Regions from separate parts of the Homo sapiens genome. Here region 1 is linked to region 2. Evidence: promoter capture Hi-C in 16 types of primary human blood cells and fetal thymus (Javierre and others, 2016). All regions are on one chromosome and are shown on one strand. Each heading gives the region's core, a stretch centred on a gene start or on the middle of the fragment in contact. The rest is flanking DNA. Distances are from core to core; before and after follow the strand shown. Region 1 overlaps SLC9A9 (solute carrier family 9 member A9). Region 2 holds the start of ATR (ATR checkpoint kinase).

Evidence for each region. Contacts are between HindIII fragments. The CHiCAGO score rates a contact against its expected background, and 5 or more counts as called.
Region 1: a contact is called between a fragment that was not itself captured here and the fragment with the promoter of ATR in region 2, in 1 of 17 cell types (total B cells). The highest score is 8.2, in total B cells.

The regions. Positions count from the first base shown.
Region 1 is chr3:143,665,731-143,671,794 of GRCh38, reverse strand. All of the region lies in intron 5 of SLC9A9 (solute carrier family 9 member A9), which reads left to right. Among named protein-coding and RNA genes, the nearest start is that of SLC9A9, 180 kb to the left of the region's middle. RefSeq lists an enhancer at 2,328-2,377. The HindIII fragment of the contact is 867 bases long and covers 1,139-2,005 here.
Region 2 is chr3:142,573,623-142,580,082 of GRCh38, reverse strand. It overlaps ATR (ATR checkpoint kinase), which reads left to right and starts at 1,350. Exons shown (of 47, transcript NM_001184.4): 1 at 1,350-1,437. The coding sequence starts at 1,379. RefSeq lists enhancers at 1,000-1,099, 1,400-1,559. The HindIII fragment of the contact is 1,226 bases long and covers 1,093-2,318 here.

The sequences.
Region 1 (6,064 bases), core at 323-2,822, 1.1 Mb before region 2:
AGACGTATCAGCCATTTTTACTATGCAATCTGCATTTCAAACCTGCACACAGTGTCATTTAACAGTACTTGGCTGTATTTTCTGTGTCTTTACAATTCAGTGTTAAGCACAATGGAATAGCATCAGTTTAAAACCCTCTACATAAACCTATGTCTGTAAAACTCCATCATATAAACCTCAATTCTATTCTTGAGCAAATTTACTCAGAAATAAAAATAACAGCTTTGATTTATATTGTTTGACTCTTTCAAAGAGCTCAAAGAGCTTCTACAGACAGTATTTCAGTTATTTTCACATTGTGTTCTTGGGTAGAGAAGACCCATTTCTTAGGTGAAATAATTGAGGTGCAGCAAATTTTAAGATTATCTCAAGGTTTCACGGCAAGTTAATGAAATATAGGTATGGAAGCTAGGAATTCTGTTTCCTTAGATTTCTAGACTGTGTTTTTGCTAGATACTAAACACTAACATCTATCTGAAAAAAAAACTGACTTTTGCTAACTTGCAGCCAGCTTAAAATTATTGAAGCAATGGCTGTACTTGAATCAATATGTAGAAGCAACCCAAAGCCACGGATTGGCAGCAAATTAAAAGCTCCATCTGAATACGTCTACTAGAGAGTATGTTATCTAGTGATAGCAGCCATTAACTAAATGTGTACAAATATATCATCTAATTTGATCATCACCACAGCCGATCAATTATCTCCATTCCAAGCAACAGAGGTTCTAAAAACTTAAGTGGTACATTTACAAGGCTCGTAAGTGGCAGAGATGGGAGACAAATCAGGTCCAATATTCTTTGTCCTACACCATTGCTGTTTCTCAAAATAGAACAGTGATGTGCCAATCAAGCTTTGGAAGAAAATGAAATCCAAGAGTCAAGAGTCAAGTTCCCACTTTATAATTGATTTTATTTAACAAACATTTGTTCATTGCCTGCTATGTCATAGGCACTGTAGGAGCTACTGAGGGAAGGGATAATAAACCAGACACAGGTTCTGCTCTCAGCATGCTCCCAGTCTAAAGAGGGAGGTAGATACGACAACTGGCAGTAGTCTAAAAGACAAGACAGAGGTAATCCAGGCAGCTTTGTAAACACAGAGTACCACCTGGTGGGGAGAAGGCTCTGAGAAAGCTTAAGGTCTCCTGTACCTCAAGCCAATATTTTGCCCAGATGAAGAAGATAACAGCTCAGCTGGAAGAACCATGAGCCATGTTTCTCTCCAGGGCCACAGACGACGTCACCTGCAGAACATTAGCAAGGTCTCCCTGGGCTCAGATACTCTTTGGAGTGTCCTGTCTTGGTAACCCTTAGAGTCACAGTCAAAACAAGGGCATATGCATTTGAAATTATGACAGCCCTCCCCTCATTCATGCAGAGAAGTGTTAAACTCATGATCACTTTTCTTGACATTGTTCTGCCCATTGCACATGCTGCTCTGTAACCCTGCAAAGCACACCCTTGATCCCAGCACTGCATCAGGGCTCCATCCGCATGATTTGGAAAATATACACATTCCACATCTGGAGACTACAGTTTGGAGTTTGGAGTGAGACCCATAGAAATTTAGATGTGGAAGGCCCTTAAAGACAATCTTGCTCAACATCCTCATTTTTAGATGAAGACCCTAAGACTCAGAAAGACAAAGTAAATGGACACAGAATAGGAACTGTTCTTTCCAAATACAGAAGTTCAAGGGAGTAATTTGTGAGAAAGGAAGAGAGATAGAGAAGAGTTTTTAACATTTCTCTGCTTGATAATATCTACTTTTTCTCATTTGAAGTTATTTTTAAGTGTTAAAGGAAAACAAGTAGAAACTGTCATTCCATTTTATACTGGACTGACCCACTAATAGTTTTGATGGCATGAACAATAACAATACAGTAACCACCACTGATGAAGCACTTACAATATGCCAAACATTTTGCATAAATAACTCCAATTAATTATTCTCCAAAAACCTGAAGAAGGGATTATTTTATCCCCATTTTACCAAGGAAGCTTACTTGAAGCTTAATGAGGTTAAGTAGCCTGCTCAAGATCACCAAGTTCATTTGCATAACAGCTGGGGTCTGATCAGAACACAGGTTGGTTTGACATCACAGTCAAGTTTCCAACCACTGTTTTCTACTTTAGTACAGAGTTGTAAATAGCAAGGTCTTGGCACAAAGGTCTTGCTTCAGAAGTTGGAAGCTAGTTATGGAAAGTCACCTCCAGAACAGAATTGGACACAATAATAGATAACAACCAACTATATAAATGCTTCAGGATGTTGAAAGTGGATCAAGCAAGGCTCCAGGTGTTCTGAAGATGAAATTTCGAGAACATACTGAAAACCGTTTGAAGCAGTTCAACAGCTCCATGGACAGCTGGGAAACAGCTGTGGTTGACAGACCTCTCTGGCTCACTGCTTTGGGGAACAGAATGTCTCCGTTTAAATGAAAGCAGTTTATTCTCAGTAATGCTCAAAGACGTATAGGATGGAAGTTTTGAAAGTCAGTGTCCAGCCCACACATTCCATTTATGTGTTAAAGAAGACATTGTACATTGAGACAAATTGGATTCAGTAATTCTTAGAGAGTATTTCCTTGCTGTCTGGTTCTTTTTAGGACTCAGCCAAGTTGATGAGGTCAAAACCATGGAAGAGTGAGGCAACTAGGGAGTAAAATTTAAGAAGGCACTCACTCTCTGGATTATGTAAATGCAGGATCAGCAGTTGTACAACCCTAAAAGGGAGTGCTTTCTTAAGAGAAAGGTACCTAGGATGGGAGAGCAGCCACTAGTCTCAGACTGGGATTTGGTCCTCTTGTTCCATAAAGACTCACAGGTGCCTCTTGGGCAGGATTTCTTGAAAAGCGGCCAAGAAAGGACAAGAATTGACCTTTTGTCTGGGTGCTACAGACAAGGAATTGTGTTGTTCAATTTATTATTTTGCACTGAAATGGAGAAAGCTTTTTGAAACAAGTTCTGTCAGGTCAGTGAGTGGGCAAAGAAGTTCCTGATTACGAGGGCAGAATACAGGAGAAAAGGAGCTGTTCTGATCCTCGAGGAGCTAACCACATGGTGGGTGACCTTCAGAGATTCATTCACTTGTTAATTCATTTATTCAGTAAACAGAATTAATTGCCTATTGCTTTCCAGAAACTATCAAAAGCATTGACAAATGCGCAGATGAACAAACTAATACCAGTGATAATCAACTTTTTAGCCAAAAAGTTCTATTCAAAAAAGGAAGTGAAAGTGTTTATAGGCTATTTATTGGGAGGTGGTTTTTTAAAATGCTACTTTCTTTTTTTATTTTTACTTTTTTTGTTATTATACTTTAAGTTCCAGTACATGTGCACAACGTGCAGGATTGTTAAATATGTATACATGCGCCATGTTGGTGTGCTGCACCCATTAACTCGTCATTTACATTAGGTATATCTCCTAATGCTATCCCTCCCCCCTCCCCCCACCCCACGACAGGCCCCAGGGTGTGATGTTCCCCACCCTGTGTCCAAGTGTTCTCATTGTTTAGTTCCCACCTACGAGTGAGAGCATGCGGTGTTTGGTTTTCTGTCCTTGTGATAGTTTGCTGAGAATGATGGTTTCCAGCTTCATCCATGTCCCTACAAAGGACATGAACTCATCCTTTTTTATGGCTCCATAGAATTCCATGGTGTATATGTGCCACATTTCCTTAATCTAGTCTATCATTGATGGACATTTGGGTTGGTTCCAAGTCTGCGATTGTGAATAGTGCCACAATAAACATACGTGTGCATGTGTCTTTATGGCAGCATGATTTATAATCCTTTGGGTATATACCCAGTAATGGGATTGCTGGGTCAAATGGTATTTCTGGTTCTAGATCCTTGAGGAATCGCTACATTGTCTTCCACAATGGTTGAACTAGTTTACACTCCCACCAACAGTGTAAGAGTGTTCCTATTTCTCCACATCCTCTCCGGCATCTGTTGTTTGCTGACTTTTTAATGATCGCCATAATAACTGGCATGAGATGTTCTCTCATTGTGGTTTTGATTTACATTTCTCTGATGGCCAGTGATGATGAACATTTTTTCATGTGTCTTTTGGCTGCATAAATGTCTTCTTTTGAGAAGTGTCTGTTCATATCATTCACCCACTTTTTCATGGGGTTGTTTGATTTTTTTCTTGTAAATTTGTTTAAGTTCTTTGTAGATTCTGGATATTAGCCCTTTGTCAGATGGGTAGATTGCAAAAATTTTCTCCCATTCTGTAGGTTGCCTGCTCACTCTGATGGTAGTTTCTTTTGCTGTGCAAAAGCTCTTTAGTTTAATTAGATCCCATTTGTCAATTTTGGCTTTTGTTGCCATTGCTTTTGGTGTTTTAGACATGAAGTCCTTGCCCATGCCTATGTCCTGAATGGTATTGCCTAGGTTTTCTTCGAGGGTTTTTATGGTTTTAAGTCTAACATTTAAGTCTTTAATCCATCTTGAATTAATTTTTGTATAAGGTGTAAGGAAGGGATCCAGTTTCAGCTTTCTACATATGGCTAGCCAGTTTTCCCAGCACCTTTTATTAAATAGGGAATCCTTTCCCCATTTCTTTTTTGGTCAGGTTTGTCAAAGATCAGATGGTTGTAGATGTGTGGTATTATTTCTGAGGGCTCTGTTCTGTTCCATTGGTCTATATCTCTGTTTTGGTACCAGTACCATGCTGTTTTAGTTACTGTAGCCTTGCAGTATAGTTTGAAGTCAGGTAGCATGATGCCTCCAGCTTTGTTCTTTTGGCTTAGGATTGTCTTGGCAATGCAGGCTCTTTTTTGGTTCCATATGAACTTTAAAGTAGTTTTTTCCAATTCTGTGAAGAAAGTCATTGGTAGCTTGATGGGGATGGCATTGAATCTGTAAATTACCTTGGGCAGTATGGCCATTTTCATGATATTGATGATTCCTATTCGTGAGCATGGAATGTTCTTCCATTTGTTTGTGTCCTCTTTTATTTTGTTGAGCAGTGTTTTGTATTTCTCCTTGAAGAGGTCCTTCACATCCCTTGTAAGTTGGATTCCTAGGTATTTTATTGTCTTTGAAGCAGTTGTGAATGGGAGTTCACTCATGCTTTGGCTCTCTGTCTGTTACTGGTGTATAAGAATGCTTGTGATTTTTGCACATTGATTTTGTATCCTGAGACTTTGCTGAAGTTGCTTATCAGCTTAAGGAGATTTTATGCTGAGACTATGGGGTTTTCTAAATATACAATCATGTCATCTGCAAACAGGGACAATTTGATTTCCTCTTTTCCTAATTGAATACCCTTTATTTCTTTCTCCTGTCTGATTGCCTTTGCCAGAACGTCCAACACTATGTTGAATAGGAGTGGTGAGAGAGGGCATCCCTGTCTTGTGTCAGTTTTCAGAGGGAATGCTTCCAGTTTTTGCCGATTCAGTATGATATTGGCTGTGGGTTTGTCATACATAGCTCTTATTATTTTGAGATATGTCCCATCAATACCTAGTTTATTGAGAGTTTTTAGCATGAAGGGCTGTTGAATTTTTTCAAAGGCTTTTTCTGCATCTATTGAGATAATCATGTGGTTTTTGTCTTTGGTTCTGTTTATATGATGGATTACATTTATTGCTTTGCATATGTTGGACCAGCCTTGCATCCCAGGGATGAAGCTGACTTGATCGTGGTGGATAAGCTTTTTGATGTGCTGCTGGATTCAGTTTGACAGTATTTCATTGAGGATTTTTGCATCAATGTTCATCAGGGATATTGGTCTAAAAGTCTCTTTTTTTGTAGTCGTGTCTCTGCCAAGCTTCAGTATCAGGATGATGCTGGCCTCATAAAATGAGTTAGGAAGGATTCCGTCTTTTTCTATTGATTGCAATAGTTTCAGAAGGAATGGTGCCAGCTCCTCTTTGTACCTCTGGTAGAATTCGTCTGTGAATCCATCTGGTCCCGGACTTTTTTGGTTGGTAGGCTATTAATTATTGCCTCAATTTTAGAGCCTGTTATTGGTCTATTCATGGATTCAACTTCTTCCTGGTTTAGTCTTGAGAGAGTGTATGTGTCCAGGAATTTATCCATTTCTTC
Region 2 (6,460 bases), core at 101-2,600:
TGGAAGGCTGAGGTGGGAGGAGCGTGTGAGGCCAAGAGTTTGAGACCAGCCTGGGCAACATAGCAAGACCTTGTCTCTACAAAAAATAATTAGCCAGGCGTGGTGGCATGTCTGTAGTCCCAGCTACTCAGGAGGCTGAGGCAGGAGGATCAATTGAGCCCAGGCTGAGGTGAGAGGATCGCTTGAGCCTGGGAGATTGAGGCTGCAGTGAGCTATGATTGCAACATTCATTGCACTAGAACCTGAACAACAGAGTAAGACAATGTATCTAACAAAAAAAAGAGGGTGAGACAGAATGTGTATATATGTTAGTCTATATGAGGCTCTTTGGTGTTAATTTGGCAAACACCTGAAGGAAAAAGGGCAATGACAGAGTGGTGTTCAAGGCAGAGAGTACAGCAAATGCAAAGTTCTTGAGGCAAGAGCATATTTGGCTGTCATTCCATCACTTTTTTCTTTAAGATACTGTATCGGTTAACTATCCTCATGTACCAAAGAACAAATGTAAACATACTGCATGACTTTGAGTGATTAACTACATAACTTTGACATGTCAACAATCTCTTATGGTGGTCATCTTTCCAATAAATTGAGTTGAGCTAGAAAATGTGTATTGCCAAAATCCATTGATTTACTTTAAAAATTAAATCACAGGTTGCGGATGCCCGTAATGGTGGCATTTCCACACACAGTACTGTTGCTGATTTGATGAGACACAAATATATTCCAACCCCATTTTCAAATATTAAAAGTTGGTAGGGTCCTCAACGAAACCTAACAGTGACTTCAAGTTGAAAAAAAATGCTTAAAAGGAAAAAAACAGGGAGAGCCCACCTTTTGGCCTGTATCTCTCAGAAAGAGGGACAAGAGCGGTGGGAACGTGAGGAACTTTTAAAATGTGAGAGCGTTACTCTGGGGAAACCTGGAGTTTACTCTTGGCCTTTACTCGCTGGACTGTCATAGTTCTCACATTTGTGAAGCGAGTCTGGGCTGGCGGCCCTCAAGCCCTATCCTCCCCCGATGCGGAAGTCTTGCTTCTCTGTGCCTCCCAGGCTTGAGAACAGCAGAGTCTGGCCGCTCAAAACGAAAGCTTCACGAACGTCGCTCGCTCGGTGCTGAGAAAGAAGCCTGACGCGACCCGGGAAACTTGACCGACGCACGCCCGCCCGCTTGCCCCGCCCCCTAACGGCTTCCCGGCTTCCCCCGGGTCCTATGCAGAAAAGACGCTGGGCCTGGCAAGCGGGGCCAGTAGCGGCTTCCGGGAGGAGTTTTGGCCTCCACACGGCTCCGTCGGGCGCCGCGCTCTTCCGGCAGCGGTAGCTTTGGAGACGCCGGGAACCCGCGTTGGCGTGGTTGACTAGTGCCTCGCAGCCTCAGCATGGGGGAACATGGCCTGGAGCTGGCTTCCATGATCCCCGCCCTGCGGGAGCTGGGCAGGTAGGGCTAGGCCCAGCCTGGGTCCTGCATCCTCCTCCGCTGATTCCGGCTTGGGTTTCACGTGCTCTCCCCTCCCCTGCTGCGCTATGGCTGGGATCCCCTAAGCCCCCGCTGCGGCCCTTGTGGAGATGCTCCGTGGCTGATTTGGGCGCTTCTCCCTCAGAGTGCCCGTTGATAGCACATGGGGCAGTCGCCACAAACCTGCGGGAAGCCGGTCCGTGGGGGAGAGAGGCGTCTGCCGGCCCTGGTTTACCACTCACCCCGATCGAGAGTTTGCTTCCTGCAGCTGGAGGAAGAGTCCCTGCTGATCGCTTTCTGGTCACTTTTCTACACTCATTTTCTTCTCGAAAATCTTTTTCCTTAGACGAGGGACTTGACCCATCAGTTTCTGTTCTTTGTGATCACTCGTGGAGGAATTGGTTTTTAGCCTTACATTTTGTCCCCAAACTGCCCTTGAAAGAAAATCACCGCTTCTCATTTTCTGCAAGTGACATCACTTGCTGGAAAAGGCAGTTTTTTTCTTTGAAGTGAAGTCATAGTACATACTGAAGATGTGACCTCCCTCGTATTGATCGTCCAGTTCCCGATCCGTTATTTTAGTCAGAAATTGGAGAGATAGACCCCTGGGTCCACAAAATCTCAGCGTGCACAGAGTGTTGCCAAAATTTGGAGACAATTTAATATTTCATTTGCAAATGCATGTTGTCTGTAAACCTCATGAAAACCAGTATCTTACCACAAGGAGGGAGAGGTGTTGATGGCTCTCACACCTCTTCAATACACAGGCAGGCTTCCCTGAACCAGGCCTAAAGACTCGGTAGAGCTTGTTTTGCTTTGTTTGTTTTAATTCTACACTACTGCGAACAAGAAATAAATAAGCTTGTGCTGCTACCGCAGTTAAATTATCATTTGGAATAACTGCTTCCCAATTTCTTAAACTGTTTGAAAACTTTCCACACAAAGTCAAAGCTGACATTAAGCCAATGGGATAGCTACTTCTCTTTCTTTTTGCAGCGCAGTTGTGTTCATTTCCACTGGTTGGCCATCCAAATAATCTAGTCTCAATATATGAATAAAAGGATAAATGAAGGGACCATTCTTGTCGTAACTGCATCACTATTTTTGAGTGTGTGAATTTTTTCCACTTATCTGTGGCAAGTATACTTTGTGTTTAGTTTATAAAATAACCTCTACCTCTCTAAAAGAAGAGGAAGAAAAGTGATCATTGTAGGAAGTTGGTTTACAAATTTCATCTTTCAGGCTCATTGTGAAGCTGAGTATATTTTTGCCACTTTGCTTTAAAGTAGAATTAACTGGTTAATACTTCTCTTCCCTCTTCTGTCTTCCTCCGTGAGTCCTGTTAATAAAAATAATTGGTTCTTGGATTATATATAGTCGGTTTCATCAGTAGAGTTTATGTTACCTTTCATTTATTTGTAGCTATTCCAAGAGAAAGAATAGAAAAACTGACCCACAGAGAGTTGTCTAATAGTTTTTAATTGTCATGGCTTTTTCATTACAACTACTTGAATCAAAAAAGCTAATCAATTTTCATAGTATATCCATGACATAGAATGAAACAAGTGTTACCACTGTTTAAGAAAAAGGGACAGAGAAGTTGAAGAACCAAAGGCACAGCTAGCAGATAACAGAGCTAGGTTTCAGATTCAAGCTTTCAAGGCCTTTTCTTCCAAAATGTTTCCTCTTAATTGACTATGGCAATTAGACTACTGAAAAAAAAAGATATTAGTGTTCTAATTTATGGGCTGCTCTTCCTCAGTCCCTCAGATAAATTTTGTCCTATTGTTTTTTTGCTATTAGCAGTCTGCTCTGCATAATCTTGCTAAATGACCTTTCCACTCTCCTGCCTTCAACTATAATCTGCTATTTGATGACTACTAATATGTTTCTCCAAATCATGTCTTCTATAGAATTGTATATTTACTGTATACTGGTAGTTTCACTGAGTGTCCTATGTGTAGTTAAGGTTCAGAATATCCAATACAAATTCCCCACATGTCCTAGCTTTCACAAGCTTTCTTTTTTTAAATTAAAAAAATTATTTTTCTCTTATTCATTGAAGTAGAGATATCTCAGTACATGGCACCATATTCACTTAGTTCTCCAAACTGGAAATCTAGAAGTCATTCTTAACTATTTTCACATGTGCTTTCAGTCTATGTCCTTGGCCCTCTTTTAATCTGTGCTGTCTTCCCAAGTAATCTTACCTAATCTCATGGCTTTAAATGTCATCCATATGCTGATAACTCCCAAATTTATATTTCTAGATCGGAGATATATATTAGGTTGCTTACTCAACATCCACACTGGGAAGTGAAAATTAACATATCCAAAGCAGAACGCCTGATTTACTGCGCCCTTGAATTTGTTCCTTCTCCTGTGTTATCGTAAATATGCCAACCAAAAGCCTAGGAGTCATCCTTGGTTTTTTTCCCTTGTCGCTTAATAATCCATAAGTTAGTTCTGACAACCATATGTTTAAGATACATCTAGAATCTAACACTTCTCACTGTCTCCACTGCTACCACCAGAATTTCTTACCTGAACTATTACAGTAACCTTAGTTGATCTTTCCATTTCTACTTTTACCTACTTATAATAGATTTTCCACTCAGTAAAGTGATTTTTCATCTATTAGTCATATTGTAAGTTCCCCTGCACAAAACCGTCCTTTGACATTCCAGCACACTTAAAATCAGTATAAAATCCAAACTCCTTACCAAGGCCTCTAAGGTTCTACATAATCTGGCTCAGCCTGCCTCTGACTTCATCACCTTTTATCCCTCTTTTGCTTACTTTACTCTAGTGATACTGACCTTGTTTCTCCAGGATACCAAGGCTGTTCCTGCCTTTAATCGTTTGCTGTTCCTTCTATCTGAACACTGGATGGTTTCATTTAGATGTCATTTCAGAATCACCTTCTCTGATTTTCCTACTTGAGATTGCTTTGTAGTTGTAAGACATTTTCAAATGTGATAGTTGCTATTAAAATGTTAAATGGAACAGTGGGATGTGGAGGAGGTTCTGAGGAGCAGCAGCATTAGCCACTAGAGGAGATTTGATGGTGTAAAGAAGCTAGTCACGTGAATCTGGGATGGAATAGGAAGTACAAAGGCCCATAAGTGGGAATGAGCCTGCTTTTTTTTTTTTTTTTTTGAGACGGAGTCTCGCCCTCTCCAGTGGCGTGATCTCTGCTCACTGCAACCTCTGCCTCCCGGGTTCAAGCGATTTTCCTGTCTCAGCCTCCCTTTCCTGTAGCTGGGACTACAGGCTTGCACCACCGAGCTAATTTTTATATTGTTAGTGAAGATGGGGTTTTACCATGTTGCACAGGTTGTCTCCAACTCCTGACCTCAAGTGATGCACCCACCTCAGCCACCATGCCAAGGCTGAATGAGCCTACTTTTAAAAGGATAGTAAGAAGGCTGGAGCACAGGGAGTAAAGAGGGGAGTGGTATGAGTTAAACAGGGAGGGGTAGGCAAGGGCCACATCCTTCAGCACCTTGGAGGCTAGAAAAAGGAGTGAGATTTTATTGTGTGATGGGAAACCATTGGAATCTTTTAAACAGGGAAATAAGCAAGTTTTTTAAAACTTGCTTAATTTTTACTTCCTTAAAATCCTTCAGTGCTTACACATTGCCTTCAGTGTAAAATCCAAACTACTTAGCCAGTCCTTTGAAATTTAACCTTATCTTCCCTCTTCAGCTGCATCTCTAAAGGCTTTAGCCACATAGAGCCTCTTACAGTTTCCAGTGCTTGGACTACCCTCCCTCTTACCCTTATTTCACTGCCTTGTCCCTTAGGGAGTCAGTTTTGTATCACCTCGTTAAGGAAGCCATGACTGACAGGGCCCTGCTCAGGGCTGAGTGTCCCTTTGTGTTCTTTCTTGGGCCTGTCAGTTCTTAACCATAATTACCTCTTGTTTGTCCTTTAATCTGCAAATTATTTTAGGGCAGGTGCATTCTGTCTTGGTTATCCTGGTATTTGATGCTTACCTCAGAGGAGGTGCCTAAGCTTTATATAATACTTACATTAATACTCAAATTTTATAGTATGCTTTTGAAAAGTTATACCCTCTTAGCTCAGTTCCAGGGTAGAAGTCACAAAATAAGAAGTGCTCACTCCTGTGAGTTTTCTTTCTTTTTTCTTTTTTTTTTTTTTTTTTTGAGACTGGCTCACCTGTTGCTCAGGCTGGAGTTCAATAGCATGAACATGTCTCACTGCAACCTCTGCCTCCTGGGGTCAAGCGATCCTCCCACCTCAGCCTCCCAAGTAGCTGGGACTACAGGTGTGTGCCACCATGCCTGGCTAATTTTTGTATTTTTGTAGACGGGGTTTCACCATGTTGCCCAGGCTGGTCTCAAACTCCTGGGCTCAAGTGATCCGCCCACCTCAGCCTCCCAAAGTGCTGGGATTACAGACATGAGCCACCACGCCCGGCCAAGTTTCTTTCTTCTGATAGTAGATCTAATGAATGGTAATCAATTTACATTTTTCTAAAACTGATTTTTAAAAATTACACAAATAATACATGAGTACATAATCTTTACAAAATGAAACTTTGTAAGAAACTCTGACCACTACCCACAATCCTGGCTCCTCTTCCCATGTTCCTCTTTGTTCACATTTTTAAATGATACTTGTGAAATTACTGTGGTTTATCATAATGTCTCCTGACTTTGTCTAAAACAATTCATGTTACCTTGTAATTACAGATTTTGAATTTTTTGTTAAATTTGTGATGCCCTATACTATGGTAGCCACTAGCCAAATGTGACCATTGACCACCTCACATGCGGCTAGTCTAAATTGAGATGTGCTGTAAATATAAGATACACAGTGGGTTTCAAAGACTTAGTACCAGAAAAAAGAATGTAAAAGATCTCATGAATAATTTTTATATCGATTACACATTCACCTAATATTTCAGATATATTGTTAGGATCAATTGTTTTTTTCCTGTTTCTTTTCTTAATGTGGCTACCAGAAAATAACAAAATTA